Regions from separate parts of the Homo sapiens genome. Here region 1 is linked to region 2. Evidence: promoter capture Hi-C in human tissues and cell types (Jung and others, 2019). All regions are on one chromosome and are shown on one strand. The core of a region is centred on a gene start or on the middle of the fragment in contact, and the rest is flanking DNA. Distances in the headings are between cores, read along the strand shown. Region 1 has its middle 6.3 kb from the start of STK35. Region 2 holds the start of NOP56 (NOP56 ribonucleoprotein).

Region 1 (4,022 bases), core at 1,336-3,835, 560 kb before region 2:
ACAAGTTAAATACTACCACAAAGCTTATAACAAAAATCCTGTTTCACCTCTGATCCCATCCCAGAAGCAGTAACTTTAATTCTGTAGTTATTTTTCCACACTTGATTATGGGATCGCTCCTTGATTTAAATTTTTTTTTATTAACTCACGGCTATGGAAGATAAGGATTTAGTTATCTCTCCTTTTCTTCCCCCTCCACCATACACACAGACACACTTTCCGTCTCCAAGTCTCCCAATATAATTATATCATAATTTTTGGTTAAGTCAAAGTGCTGTTTTACATGACAATGACAATGTAATATTATTTCCAGCTGAGTGTTGTAGTTTATGATGATTACAATGTTTTTCTTATCAATTGTTTTTGTTTTCTTGCCTTTAATAATCGCTTCATGTTTTATTTGCTTAGTTTCCTAGGTAATTCATTCAGCTCCTATTCATCCTCGAATTCTTACCAGAACTCAAATCCTCTCCAGTTCCCTCTGCTTTGTGCTCAGTCTAGGAACATGACAGTGTGATGTAGTGGTTCTCAAAGCATGGTTCCGGGATAACAGCGTCAACATCAGCATCATCTGCGACCGTGTCAGAAATGCAAATTATCAAGCTCTACCCGAGACTTACTGAATTAGTCGCACTGTGGGTGGCTCCAGCTATCTGGGTTTTAATCAGCTCTCCAGGTGATGCCAGTGGATTGGGCACTCAAGCTTGAGAGCCATAGGTCTAATGGTTGAAAACATGGATACCCAAACCTAAGGCTGCTGGGGTCCAAATACCAGGTATTCCGGTCATTGGTGATGTAGCAACTTCCAACCCTCAGTCTTCCTAGTTGTCTTTGTTTTTCTTTTGAGACAGAGTCTCACTCGTCGCCCAGGCTGGCGTGCAGGGCATGATCTTGGCTCACTGCAACATCTGCCTCCCAGGTTCCAGCAATTCTCCCACCCCAGCCTCCCAAGTAGCTGGGAGTACAGGCATGCGTCACCACGTCTGACTAATTTGTGTGTTTTCAGTAGAGACAGGGTCTCACCATGCTGGCCAGGCTGGTCTCAAACTCCTGGCTTCAGGTGACCCACCCACCTCTTCCTCCCAAACTGCTGGAATTACAGGCGTGAGCCACCACATGTGGCCAGTCTTCCCATCTATAAAATGGGGACGAAAACAGCCTCTCCCATATAGAGTTATTGCGAGTTGTGTGGTGTTAGGCATCATGACAAGCTCTAGCGTTTCCTGGAGACAGCCTTCCTGGAGCCCTCTGAAAATCCAGAGCCATTATGGGAGGGGAGCTCTCCAAGGCGACTGCACACACTCCTCCAGGCCTCCCTAGTACTCCCTGCTCAGGGGATCTCCTTCATTGAGGCAGCCACCTCAAGCTTCAGTCTTCAGCACCTCCTGCTCCCAAGATCCTCCTCCTATACCCCTGTGCCAGCCTCTCTGCCTTTAACCCTCTCCCACGCTCGGCTCCCCCTTCTACAACCACCACACCACCTCATTCCTAGCCCCTACCCCCATGCCACCTCTGTCCTTAATCCTCAGCCCCAATCCTTCCTCCTCACTCCGCATAATCCCTCTTCCAGCCCCCTGGAGCAGTCTCAGCCCCCTGTCTCCTACCTTCCATTCCCCCACACTCCTTTACTCCATCCACCCTTCCCTCCCAGGACGAAGCTCCCTGCTTTCCCATGGCACCACCCCCAGGGCTGGCTGCCCCTCGGGTGTCCTCAGCCCCCTGAAGTACAGAGATGGATCACCAGCCTCAGCCTTACTATTCTGCCTTCTCACTTGGGACGGTTCTTACCTATCCGAGCTTCAGCACTCTCGTGTGAAAGGAGGGCCAATGGGGTCCAGCCACATCACCGACCGTAAGTGCTTGGCATATAGCAAGCACTCAGTAACTCCACCATTCTTTCCATGGCCCCTGAGTCCCTGCCTCGTTATGGGGCCCCACACATCCCTCTTCCTGTGTTTCCCACCACTCTTCCCCCATTCACTCAGCTCAGGCCACACTGGCCTCCTTGCCTGCTCCCTCCCACCTAGGGCCTTTGCTCTTCCCTCTGATCTGAAATGCTCTTCCAGTAGAGATGCAATTGACCTATTCTTTAACTTAAATCAGGTCCCTGCTCAATGGTCACCTCCTTAGAAAGCTTTCCCCAAACCACCCATTCTAGAATACCATCGACCCCATCCCTTGCTATCTTTTTTTTTTTTTTTTTTTTTTGAGACGGAGTTTCGCTCTTGCTGCCCAGGCTGTAGTGCAATGGTGCAATCTCAGCTTACTGCCACCTCTGCTTTCTGGGTTCAAGTGATTCCTGTGCCTCAGCCTCCTGAGTAGCTGAGATTACAGGTGTGTGCCACCATGCCCGGCTAATTTTGTATTTTTAGTAGAGACGGGGTTTCTCCATGTTGGTCAGGCTGGTCTCGAACTCCTGACCTCAGGTGATCCGCCTGCCTCGGCCTCCCAAAGTGCTGGGATTACAGGCATGAGTCACCATGCCCAGCCTCCATCCCTTGCTATCTTTTGTTTACTTTCTGGTCCCTAATGGGTCTACTGTGATGTGGGACTGCATAACTGCACTGTCATATTGTCTGTGTCAGCCCCTCAAGGCAGACACTGAGTTTTCTCCTGCTCATCCCCATACATCAGCTCCCAAACTGCCTTGCACATAGAGGAGTAAGGGTTCAAAAAATGTTAAATGAATGACTTTTCTTACAGTAAAAGTGTAGCCATTGCTTTATTCAGCCAGTGTCAGCGACTCCTTGAGTGTAGAGAGCACAACCAATGATGTGACATTCCATGCAGCTCTCTGTGCTCAGCAGAGAAAGGACTTCCTTCCGCATCCCTGGCCTGCTAAAAGGGCTGAAAACCTCACTGCTTGGTCGGTTACGGTGGCTCACGCCTGAAATCTCAGCACTTTGGGAGGTCAAGGTGGATGGATCACTTGAGGTCAGGAGTTCGAGGCCAGCCTGGCCAATATGATGAAACCCCATCTCTACTAAAACACACACACACACACAAAATTAGCCAGGTGTGGTGGCAGGTGTCAGTAATCCCAGCTACTCGGGAGGCTGAGGAGGAGAATCATTTGAATCCAGGAGGTAGAGGTTGCAGGGAGCCGAGATCATGCCACTGCACCCCAGCCTGGACAACAGAGTGAGACTCCATTTAAAAAAACAAACAAAAAACCTCACTGCTGCTCTTCTCTTCTACATTTCTTCTATCACTAAATATTGAGCTCAGTCAGATGTTTGGTACTGTCTGAGGTTCCAGGGATACTGAGGCAGGCATGTTTGTCAACAAGAAAGATGTAGAAGAGGGCTCGCTGTAACGTTTACACTGCTTAGCCTGGGGAGGGGCTGAGTGCGATCAAGAGATGTGGAGTGTCTGGGGCCTCAGTTTGAAACCCAGCTGTGCCAGCTTCACATTCGGTTTCTTCATCTGTAAAATGGGGCTAATGAAAGTCACTACCTCATGGAATTGTCGTAATTCTTTGTTAATCCCTGTGCCTGGCAGACAGAAAACTTTAGTAAATGTTGGCTATTAGTCCTAACAGTAAAGTATAGGTTACTTCCATAAGTTAAGCAAGACAAAAACAAAAACTAAAAATTTGGTCAAGGCATCAAATGATTTATCAAGCAGTCCAGCCCTCTTAACAGCATATAAAAGGATTCACACTCCTTGTGGTCCTCCCAGAACTTCATATTCAATCTCTCTCAAAATTCAGGTGGGGGATACAGCTGGAGGCCATTATCCTAAGCAAATTAACTCAGGAACAGAAAACCAAAAACCAAATACCGCATGTTCTCACTTATATGTGGGAGTAAACAATGGGTGCTCATGGACATAAAGACAGGAGTAGACACTGTGTATTACTAGGGTGGGGAGGGAAGGGCAAGGGTGGAAAAGCTACTGGTTACTATGCTCATTACCTGGACGATGGGCTCAACTGTATCCCAAACCTTAGCATCACACAATATATGCATGTAACAAACCTGCACAGGTACCCCAAAATCTAAAAAAACAAGCTGGAATTA
Region 2 (3,505 bases), core at 141-2,640:
GTGGATAAGCACCTGTAACTCCAGGAAGATTCAGGATTAAGGGCAGAAATAATGAAGTAAATTGAAGTATTAGCATTAGTATTTTCCATTACATTTTGGAATCGTCTATTTTGATGTATTCACGACGGTTAAAATAATTTAACATGCTAATGTATGGATTAACTTGGCAATTCCATTTTAAAATATTAAATGGAATAACGATTCTGACTCGTAAGTAGACATGTGTAACAGAATTCAACCACATCTGTAAACCATATTGAAATTATGAGAGTAAGATTTACCAACCACATTTAGGTTTGACATATTAGATTTGTGAGTGAACTATGTACTTGGATTTTGTCAAGTAACTCAATCGCTTAACAAAATAACAATTAAATGTATAAATGCAGTTTATAGCTATACATTATTTTTAAAAATCCCCTTCGAATGACTCTTTAAAACATACCAGGGGATACGCTACTTAAGTATAACTAGGTTTTGGATTTATAACGTTAATATTAATTATTAAAGCAAAACTCATTTCTAAAGAGTCGCCTGAGTGCCCAAAAGACGCCCTCAAGGACAGGGAAGCAGCTGCGATTCACTCAGCGATCACCAGCGCCCAGAATTCAGGGCCGCCCAAGCGGAGGAGCAACACGTGGCCCAGCAAAAGGAGCTGGGTCCCGTGCAGCACAGCAACAAGAAACTGGCCTAGGAAGACGCTGGAGCGTCTTTCTTTCGCACGTTACTGCCTGCTACAGTCATTTAAAAAAAAAAAACCAAAAACAAAAAAAAGAAATAAATTAATAGTACGAAGAAAACTGCGCGAGCTACATTCCCAGCAGGGTCTGCGCCAGAGCGCGCCAGGCACCGCTCCCGTTACGGGTGGGAGGAAAGGATGCACCGCCCACCCGGCGCCGGGGAGGCTCGTCCCCGAGTAGGGGACGGGAACGCCTGGGTCCCGGGGACGTGGGGCGCAGGGTCTGGGGCCCGAGGCCACGGACGAAGCGGGAAGCCGGCTAGGCAGCGGTCTCTGTCTGGGATGGACGCCGCGCCCCACGCGGACCTCCCGCCCCGACTTCACCCAGCTCTGCTGCCCGTAACTCATATGACAAGAACATCAGGAACCGGACTATTACCCCGAAAGGGCCTTCCCAAGTCGTTTCGCCGCCTGCAGTGCCCGACCGGGGGCCGCGCGTCCCCGGCAACCACGCCCGCCCGCGCAGCTGCAGAGGCCGGAAAAGGCCCGCTCGCCCGCGCTCGGCACCACCCAGCCCGCGCTCCGGGCGATACCACCCTGGGCGGCCCCTCCAAAGGCCGGAGATGGTGTCGTCCCCGGCCTCCGATTGGTCGGGGGGGCGGGGGCGTGGCCTCTGGAGCCTGGTTCCGCGCGCCGGAGCGCGCTAGCCGCATTGCGAGCCGAACCCGGGAGCTGGCGCCATGGTGAGGAGTGGTTGCGGGGCGCGGGCGACGCGACGGTGGGGGTTTCGGCCTGCGTTCGGGCCGCAGACAGGGCCTGGGCCTGGGCCTGGGCCTGCGCCTGCGCCTGCGCCTGCCCTGGGAACGGGTTCCGGCAGACGCTGAGGTTGCGTTGACGCTCGCGCCCCGGCTCCCGTTCCAGGTGCTGTTGCACGTGCTGTTTGAGCACGCGGTCGGCTACGCGCTGCTGGCGCTGAAGGAAGTGGAGGAGATCAGTCTGCTGCAGCCGCAGGTGGGTGAGATCCGTGGGCTCCTTTGGCGGCCCCGCAGACCCTCATCGCGCGGGTCCCAGCATGCACAGCGCGCTCCCACGTGGCCGGCCGAGCGGTTCGGGGCGGGGGGACGGGCCTGGAAAGCTCTAGATCCGGGGGTCTTTACCTTGACCCATGGGTAGAATCGCTCTAGCAATTAGAAATAAGCCTCCCGGACGCCGCCCCCGAACGATTAAAGCAGAAGCTGGGATGTGGGGCCCAGGTATCAGCATATTTTAAGAGCTTCCAAGGCTGAGAACCGCTGCTTGACTGCGCCGCAGAGGCAGGAGGGAGGGAAGGAAACCACTTAGCCTCTTTCTCCCCCCAGGTGGAGGAGTCTGTGCTCAACCTGGGCAAATTCCACAGCATCGTTCGTCTGGTGGCCTTTTGTCCCTTTGCCTCATCCCAGGTTGCCTTGGAAAATGCCAACGCCGTGTCTGAAGGTAAGTCGGCCACCGCCAAGTGTCACAGAGAGATGTGGTTCCTTTCGGTATCCTCTCGGGCAGCTTGTGATAGTATTTGCCGTCCTTGGCTGGCTCTGAGTCTGATAGGCGTGAGGCAGTATTTGAGCCATACAATGTGTAATTTGAAATAATTGTCTTCACAGAGCTCAAGGTCTGGGAACTGTGCTAGACCAAACTGTTTAAGCAGACGATGTGGAATGTGTGTTAACGTTTCCTTGTGGGCACTGTAGTGACAAACTATTTTTTATTTTTATTTTTTTTGAGATGGAGTCTGTCCCCCAGGCTGGAGTGCAGTGGCAAGATCTGGGCTCACTGCAACCTCTGCCTCCCTGGTTCAGGCGATTCTCCTGCCTCAGCCTCCCGAGTAACTGGGATTACAGGCCTGTGCCAGCCACCACACCCGGCTAATTTTGTATTTTTGGTAGAGACGGGGTTTCACCATGTTGGCCAGGCTAGTCTCCATCTCCTGACCTCGTGATCCGCCCGCCTCGACCTCCCAAGGTGCTGAGGTTGCAGGCGCGAGCGACGGTGCCCGGCCGACAAAGGGGGGTTTCTTAAAGGGGGTCGGCTTAACACCTACTTGTGCCTGAGGTTTTGCCTAAACACAATCAAGTGTCTGGTTCTCTGCTTTCTGTTCGATTGGAAAGGGCAGTTGGGTAAACACAGGCTGAGAAAAAAAGGTTTGGTTCCAGAAGGCAAATTCTACGAAATACTCGAGGGTGTGTTACAAGCTATTATTTATTGCCCACTTGTGCTATCAGACCTGAATGCAGTTGTTCCCATGGCTGGGCCAGGCTTTGCAGTGATGACTTGCGAATCAAATCTGTCAATCCCCTGAGTGCAATCACTGATGTCTCCATGTCTCTGAGCAATGCCTGATGGGGAGGGATCTAGGTATGCCATCCCAGCGTGCTCGGTGGGACCAGGGTAGTCAGCTGAGGGATGTTAGAGTTGATCGTCCTTCAGCCTGTTAGTGGGAACTGTGTTCTTTCCCCTGAGGGGTTGTTCATGAGGACCTCCGCCTGCTCTTGGAGACCCACCTGCCGTCCAAAAAGAAGAAAGTACTCTTGGGAGTTGGGGATCCCAAGATTGGTGCCGCAATACAGGAGGAGTTAGGGTACAACTGCCAGACTGGAGGAGTCATAGCTGAGATCCTGCGAGGTGAGACCATCATCTGTTATATTCCTGTTATCCTGGACATTTTGGGGGAGGAGGTTCTGGAAACTTGGTTGCTTGTTGTGATTTCTGGGAAGGCCTTCAGGCTGGGCTGGTGCCCGTGGGTGCGGGAGCTAGCTCAGAGCCCCTTGTTGCTCACCGTCTTGCCCTCTTCTT

Evidence for each region. Contacts are between HindIII fragments. The study calls those that stand out against the background at their distance.
Region 1: a contact is called between a fragment that was not itself captured here and the fragment with the promoter of NOP56 in region 2, in 1 of the 25 tissues and cell types used here (spleen).

What each region holds. Positions count from the first base shown.
Region 1 is chr20:2,093,494-2,097,515 of GRCh38, forward strand. No RefSeq gene overlaps it. Among named protein-coding and RNA genes, the nearest start is that of STK35, 6.3 kb to the right of the region's middle. RefSeq lists enhancers at 1,184-1,685, 1,686-2,185. The HindIII fragment of the contact is 4,445 bases long and covers 364-4,022 here.
Region 2 is chr20:2,651,242-2,654,746 of GRCh38, forward strand. NOP56 (NOP56 ribonucleoprotein) reads left to right here and starts at 1,391. Exons shown (of 12, transcript NM_006392.4): 1 at 1,391-1,422; 2 at 1,601-1,690; 3 at 2,038-2,152; 4 at 3,173-3,334. The coding sequence starts at 1,420. MIR1292 (microRNA 1292) reads left to right here and starts at 1,536; the gene lies at 1,536-1,601. LOC105372505 (a long non-coding RNA gene) reads right to left here and starts at 1,223. Exons shown (of 5, transcript XR_007067502.1): 1 at 1,119-1,223. SNORD110 (small nucleolar RNA, C/D box 110) reads left to right here and starts at 2,971; the gene lies at 2,971-3,045. RefSeq lists a silencer at 875-1,514 and an enhancer at 2,015-2,104. The HindIII fragment of the contact is 12,812 bases long and covers 1-3,505 here.